Linked DNA regions of Homo sapiens: region 2 is linked to region 1. Evidence: promoter capture Hi-C in human tissues and cell types (Jung and others, 2019). All regions are on one chromosome and are shown on one strand. Each heading gives the region's core, a stretch centred on a gene start or on the middle of the fragment in contact. The rest is flanking DNA. Distances are from core to core; before and after follow the strand shown.

What was found. The method cuts DNA at HindIII sites, captures the fragments that hold promoters and counts their contacts. A contact is called where the count stands out against the background at its distance.
Region 2: a contact is called between the fragment with the promoter of HDAC6 here and the fragment with the promoter of GLOD5 in region 1, in 1 of the 25 tissues and cell types used here (adrenal gland).

The regions. Positions count from the first base shown.
Region 1 is chrX:48,760,398-48,763,126 of GRCh38, forward strand. GLOD5 (glyoxalase domain containing 5) reads left to right here and starts at 1,350. Exons shown (of 4, transcript NM_001080489.3): 1 at 1,350-1,456. The coding sequence starts at 1,394. RefSeq lists a cis regulatory region at 1,102-1,844. The HindIII fragment of the contact is 11,202 bases long and covers 1-2,729 here.
Region 2 is chrX:48,800,660-48,803,388 of GRCh38, forward strand. It overlaps HDAC6 (histone deacetylase 6), which reads left to right and starts at 1,408. Exons shown (of 29, transcript NM_006044.4): 1 at 1,408-1,483; 2 at 2,004-2,126; 3 at 2,212-2,340; 4 at 2,469-2,557. The coding sequence starts at 2,034. RefSeq lists cis regulatory regions at 1-259, 1-8 and enhancers at 1-598, 720-989, 836-1,349, 1,980-2,059. The HindIII fragment of the contact is 8,538 bases long and covers 1-2,729 here.

The DNA of each region.
Region 1 (2,729 bases), core at 100-2,599:
CTGCACTGAGCCATCATGGCGCCAGTGGGCTCCAGCATGGGTGACAAAGTGAGACACTGTCTCAAAAAAAAACAAAAACAAAACAATATCCACAACACAAAGTGTTTGTGTTGGGGGTAACTAGAAACAAAAATCTCAAACTCACATGCTCCAGGGGCCAGACAAGTAACCTGTAAGGGAGATGGGGGAGTTCTGCTCAGGGTAAAGTGAACAGCAACTGGGCTGATGAATGTTCTCTGACTCTCAGCAGCGGAAGGTGAGGGTGAGTGAAGGGTGAGTGGGGAGGAGGAGGAAGACTGCAAATCTCATCCCCCAAAACTCATCCCCCAAAATAATTCAGGAACATCACACCCTGGGGCTCAGAACTTTTTTTTTTTTAAACAGAGTCTCACTCTGTCACCCAGGCTGGAGTGCAATGGCGCGATCTCGGCTCACTGCAACCTCCGCCTCCCGGGTTCAAACTATTCTCCTGCCTCAGGCTCCTGAATAGCTGGGACTACAGGTGCACACCACCATGCCTGGGTAATTTTTGTATTTTTAGTAGAGATGGAGCTTTACCATGTTGGCCAGGCTGGTCTCGAACTCCCAGCCTCAAGTAATCCGTCCACCTTGGCCTCCCAAAGTGCTGGGATTACAGGCGTGAGCCACCGTGCTTGACCAAGGGGCTCAGAACTCTTAAGAGTTCAGGGATCTTGGCTTGGAAACAGACACCTAATGGGTCAGAGCAGTCATACTCTAACTCAGATAGCTCACAACTTCATACCCCTGACACACACTCTCAAACAGCTCACAGATCTCACACTTTGGAGACATACCCCTAAGTAGACCAGAGGCATCACACGCTAGAATAAAGATCCCCTTAATACTTGGTGGTTTTTCAGTATTATTATTATTGAGATGGAGTCTTGCTCTGTCACCCAGGCTGAAATGCAATGGCGCCATCTCGGCTCACTGCAACCTCCGCCTCCCGGATTCACGCGATTCTCCTGCCTCAGCCTCCCAAGTAGCTGGGATTACAGGCGCCCGCCACCATGCCTGGCTAATGTTTTGTATTTTTAGTAAAGATAGGGTTTTGCCATGTTGTCCAGGCTGGTCTCGAAATCCTGATCTCAGGTGATCCACGTGCCTTGTCCTCCCAAAGTGCTGGGATTACAGGCATGAACCACCGCACCCAGCCTTCAGTGTTAACAAGAAGTAATCCCTTACACACATCCACTTTAAGCTTTCAATTTTGAGGCCCTGAATTTAATGTTAAAGTCCTTCCATTTGCACTACCTACCTGTGTCACCTCCCACAGTCCTCAGCCTGTGCCCTCCCATTCCTGCCCCTTGATCTCCAGGCGCTGAGCCAGAGGATTGTCGGGAGGACCCTGGGCAAAGACGCCTACCCTGCCATGCTGCGCCATCTGCCCTCCAGGCTGCCAGTCAAGATGTGGGGCAGGACTTTGGAGAAACAGGTGAACAAGATGGCCCCTGGGGATCTGGGGCAAGGGTGTTGGCACTGAAACTGGTCTAGTAACCTGTTTCCCTTCTCTGCGGGCTCCCATTTCCTGTCCTCCTCTCTCCCTTTCTCTTTCAGAGACAAGCAGAGGGCAGCAGAGGCCCATGGAAAGGCCCGGCTCTAAGCCATGGAGGGCCCTGTGCTCAGGTGTGCAGGGCTGGGCCGGGGCTGAGGGCTGGCTCCTCCCCCAGTTTAGCCAGGGACAGGTGGAGAGATACAAAGGTGGCTCACGCAGGGTGCCCCCAAAGCTGTCATGATTAAGGCCATGTGGAGAGAGGCTAGGAAACACAGCGCTGACCTTGAGCTTTAGGAGAGGAATTCAGAGGCCCCTGGCAACCTGAAGGGGACCTTGAAGAGGACCCTGTAGGAAGACAGAACACTTCCCTGTAGAGGAGGCCAAAGGAGGAAGGACATGGTGTTCCGGGCACTCTGACTATAGGGATTTTATATGCTGTGGTGAGAAATAAAATGGATTATATTTTTGTAGAGTGTGTAAAACGGGGCTTGGCACACAGTAAGCCTTGTGTGATTACTATGTCTTTTTTTTTTTTTTTTTTTGAGACCGAGGTTTGCTCTTGTCGCCCAGGGTGGAGTGCAGTGGTGCAATCTCAGGTCACTGCAACCTCTGCCTCCCAGGTTCAAGCGATTCTCCTGCCTCAGCCTCCCGAGTAGGGGATTACAGGTGCACGTCACCATGCCCAGCTAATTTTTGTATTTTTAATAGAGACAGGATTTCACCATGTAGGCCAGGCTGGTCTCAAACTCCTGACCTCATGTAATCCACCCACCTTGGCCTCCCAAAGTGCTAGGATTACAGACGTGAGCCACTGCACCCAGTCCTTTGTGTGATGACTATGTCTTGATCATCATTTTATAAAGCAGGCTTTGTAACTTCACCTCCAAGAGTCTGCAGGATCCAGACCCTGCCTTGCCCTCCCACTTATCTCTCACTCACTCTTGGGTTCTGAGCTACGCTGGCCTTCCTGTTATTGAAGACAGCCATCCCTGCTCGTCCTTGAATTTGCAAGGATGGAGCTCCGAGTCTGCAAAGCAGGATCTGGGGAGTGAATCTAAGCTGGCAGGGAAGAATAGAATAATGGGAGGAATAGGTGGAGTTTATTTCTAACAGACTATCAAAATGATGCAGATGTGGCCAAAGCAGTGCTTAGAGGAAATCTATAGTTCTAAATGCACAGATCAGAAAAGTAGAAAAGTTGAAAATCAATGAC
Region 2 (2,729 bases), core at 158-2,657, 40 kb after region 1:
AAAGCTACTGGGCGGTGAGACCGTCAATCTGTCAGTCTGATGCAGAACCCCCGGACTGCTTATCTCTCCGGTCCCAGCTTATAGCCCGGTAGGAAATGGTGGAGAATGAGACAGGGAGATTAGGAGGACAAACCGGCCTCCTGCAGAGCTGACATTTAGACATGGAGTGGGAGTTGCGGGGGAGAGGGGGTGCCTAGGGACAGCTCCCCAGACGCACACACACTTTCTATTACTGCTTGGGAGCAGTGGTTACCCGTTGGAGGGGGCAGATAGGGAGAGCTGCTGCCCATGAGAACTCCCATCCTCAAGGCCATTCTGGCCCTGGGCACTATTATTATCACAACTTTCCAGATGAGGAAACGGAGCACAGAACTGTTCAGCAACTTGCCCAAAGTCACATGGTTAAGTCCCGTAACCTCAGTTTCCTTATCTGCAAAGCAGCCTTAATAATGGGAACTACCTCATAGAATTGTGGTTTACAACGATGCCTGTCACATAATACTTGCTATCATTACCATTCCCTGCCCCCACTAAGACTCCTTCCACTCAGAATATTGCGGCAGAATATTAATAGCTAATATTCGGCCAGTGTTTCCTGTGTACCACCATAGTGAATATTAACTCGGAAAATCCTCACATTTAGCATCGTCACCACGCCTATTTTGGCCGCCACCACCAACGTCCAGTGGCAACCTCGCTCTCGGCCCAGCCACAACCAGCCCGCCCGCGCTACGTCATCACGGCGCGTCGCGCGGGAAGTCGCGGGGAAAAGGTAAGATGCCCCTTCCTAATTCCCTCGCTTCCTTGCTTGCTCTCCAGACACCGCCGACCCGAAGGGCTCCTAAGTGACTGGACAGGGACGGAGGGGCGGCGGCTATGGCATCCGGGACGACAGCGACGATAGCCGAGGCAAGAAAAAGCTTGCACCGCAGCCCTGTCGGGAACCGCCGGCGCCTGCCTTTTACGTAGGCGCAGCACAGCTGGCGTAGCACGCCGACGCACCGCCCCGTCGCCTGTGAGCTCGCGGTGTGGCTCAGCCCAGCTGGCGTAGCACGCCGACGCACCGCCCCGCCGCTTGTGAGCTCGCGAGAGGTGTGGCTCGCGCGAGGGGCGCGGCCTTGAGGCACGGTCCCCTCTGGAGGCGGGATCTGGGCGGGCAGTCGAGAGACGAGGCCCAATGGAAAAGAAAAGCCTGAGCGCTCGCGTCCCCACAGGTCGCCAGAAACTTGGTGGAGCGAGCCAAGGGCGGAGTTTGAGAAAGGGGCTGCGTCCAATGAGTGGAGCGGTGAGTACAGCGCGTCGACGGCGGAGGCGGGAAGGGGGCGGAGGCCGACCGAAGGCGGCTAGGGACTGGCTGAAGAGGGTTAGCGAAACGTTAGCGGTCGGGTCTGGGCAGGGGGTGGAGCTGGTTGAAGGAACGGGGCAGTCCCCTGAGGAGCGGGGCTGGTTGAAACGCTAGGGGCGGGATCTGGCGGAGTGGAAGGTACCGGTCCGGCCCGATAAGGGGTGGAGTTAAGTGAATCGTTAAGGGTGGAGTCGAAACCGGGGTCGGGGCCGGGGCCGGCTGAGTGAAAGGGTGGGTGATTATCCCGGGAGATAGGCCGAAAGGGCAGGTTCGTGAAGGAATGGGGTCTGGGCTGGGCTTAGAGGGTCTGGGAATGGGGCTTAGGAGAGTAGAAGGGGCGGTGATTGGTTGGAAAGGGCAGGCCCTAAGACGGACTGTGTGAGCCCGGGGGCTCATTGCTCCGTGAAAGGGCAAGACCAGGGAAAGAGAATCGTGTAAAAGGGGTGGAGTCTAGCGGGCCGGGCGGGGCCGGGTAGAATGGCCACCTGAGTGGAGGGAGAAGGCCTGAGAGAGGCGGAGTTTGGAAGGCTGTGGAGAATCAGATCGCGTAAGGAATGGAATCTAATAGAGGGGGCGGAGCCTGGAAAAGGGCAGAGAGGTGGGGTCCTCAGGGCACACTAGCCCCCTCACATACCCACGCTCCTCCCCCCACCCCCAGAACCGCGGCAGGGGCCAAGCCTCCTCAACTATGACCTCAACCGGCCAGGATTCCACCACAACCAGGCAGCGAAGAAGTAGGCAGAACCCCCAGTCGCCCCCTCAGGACTCCAGTGTCACTTCGGTGAGGCCCTAGACCCGCCCTGATGAGGGGGAGAGGGAGCAAGTTGGTCATGCCCTGGACTCTGACCCTTCTCTCTGATTCACAGAAGCGAAATATTAAAAAGGGAGCCGTTCCCCGCTCTATCCCCAATCTAGCGGAGGTAAAGAAGAAAGGCAAAATGAAGAAGCTCGGCCAAGCAATGGAAGAAGACCTAATCGTGGGACTGCAAGGGATGGTGAGCAGGGCCTGGCTGCAGTTTAGCCTCGTATGACAATCAAAACCCAAAGGTTCCCCACCCTGGACAGTTCCCTCTGACTCAGGGCCTAAAATGGATCTGTGTCTCCTTTTTTTTTTCCTCTGCAGGATCTGAACCTTGAGGCTGAAGCACTGGCTGGCACTGGCTTGGTGTTGGATGAGCAGTTAAATGAATTCCATTGCCTCTGGGATGACAGGTGAGGCTGGGTCCTCCAGGCTGTCTCCAAACCACAAAAATACACACACTTAGAGCCCATTAGCAAGAATAAATCTTTTCTTACCCCAGCCTGGATACTGGAAGCAGATGATTTGGGGAGGTAGGGCTCACACTTGAAAGGGTTCTTTTATGTAGCTAACAAACATTTATTG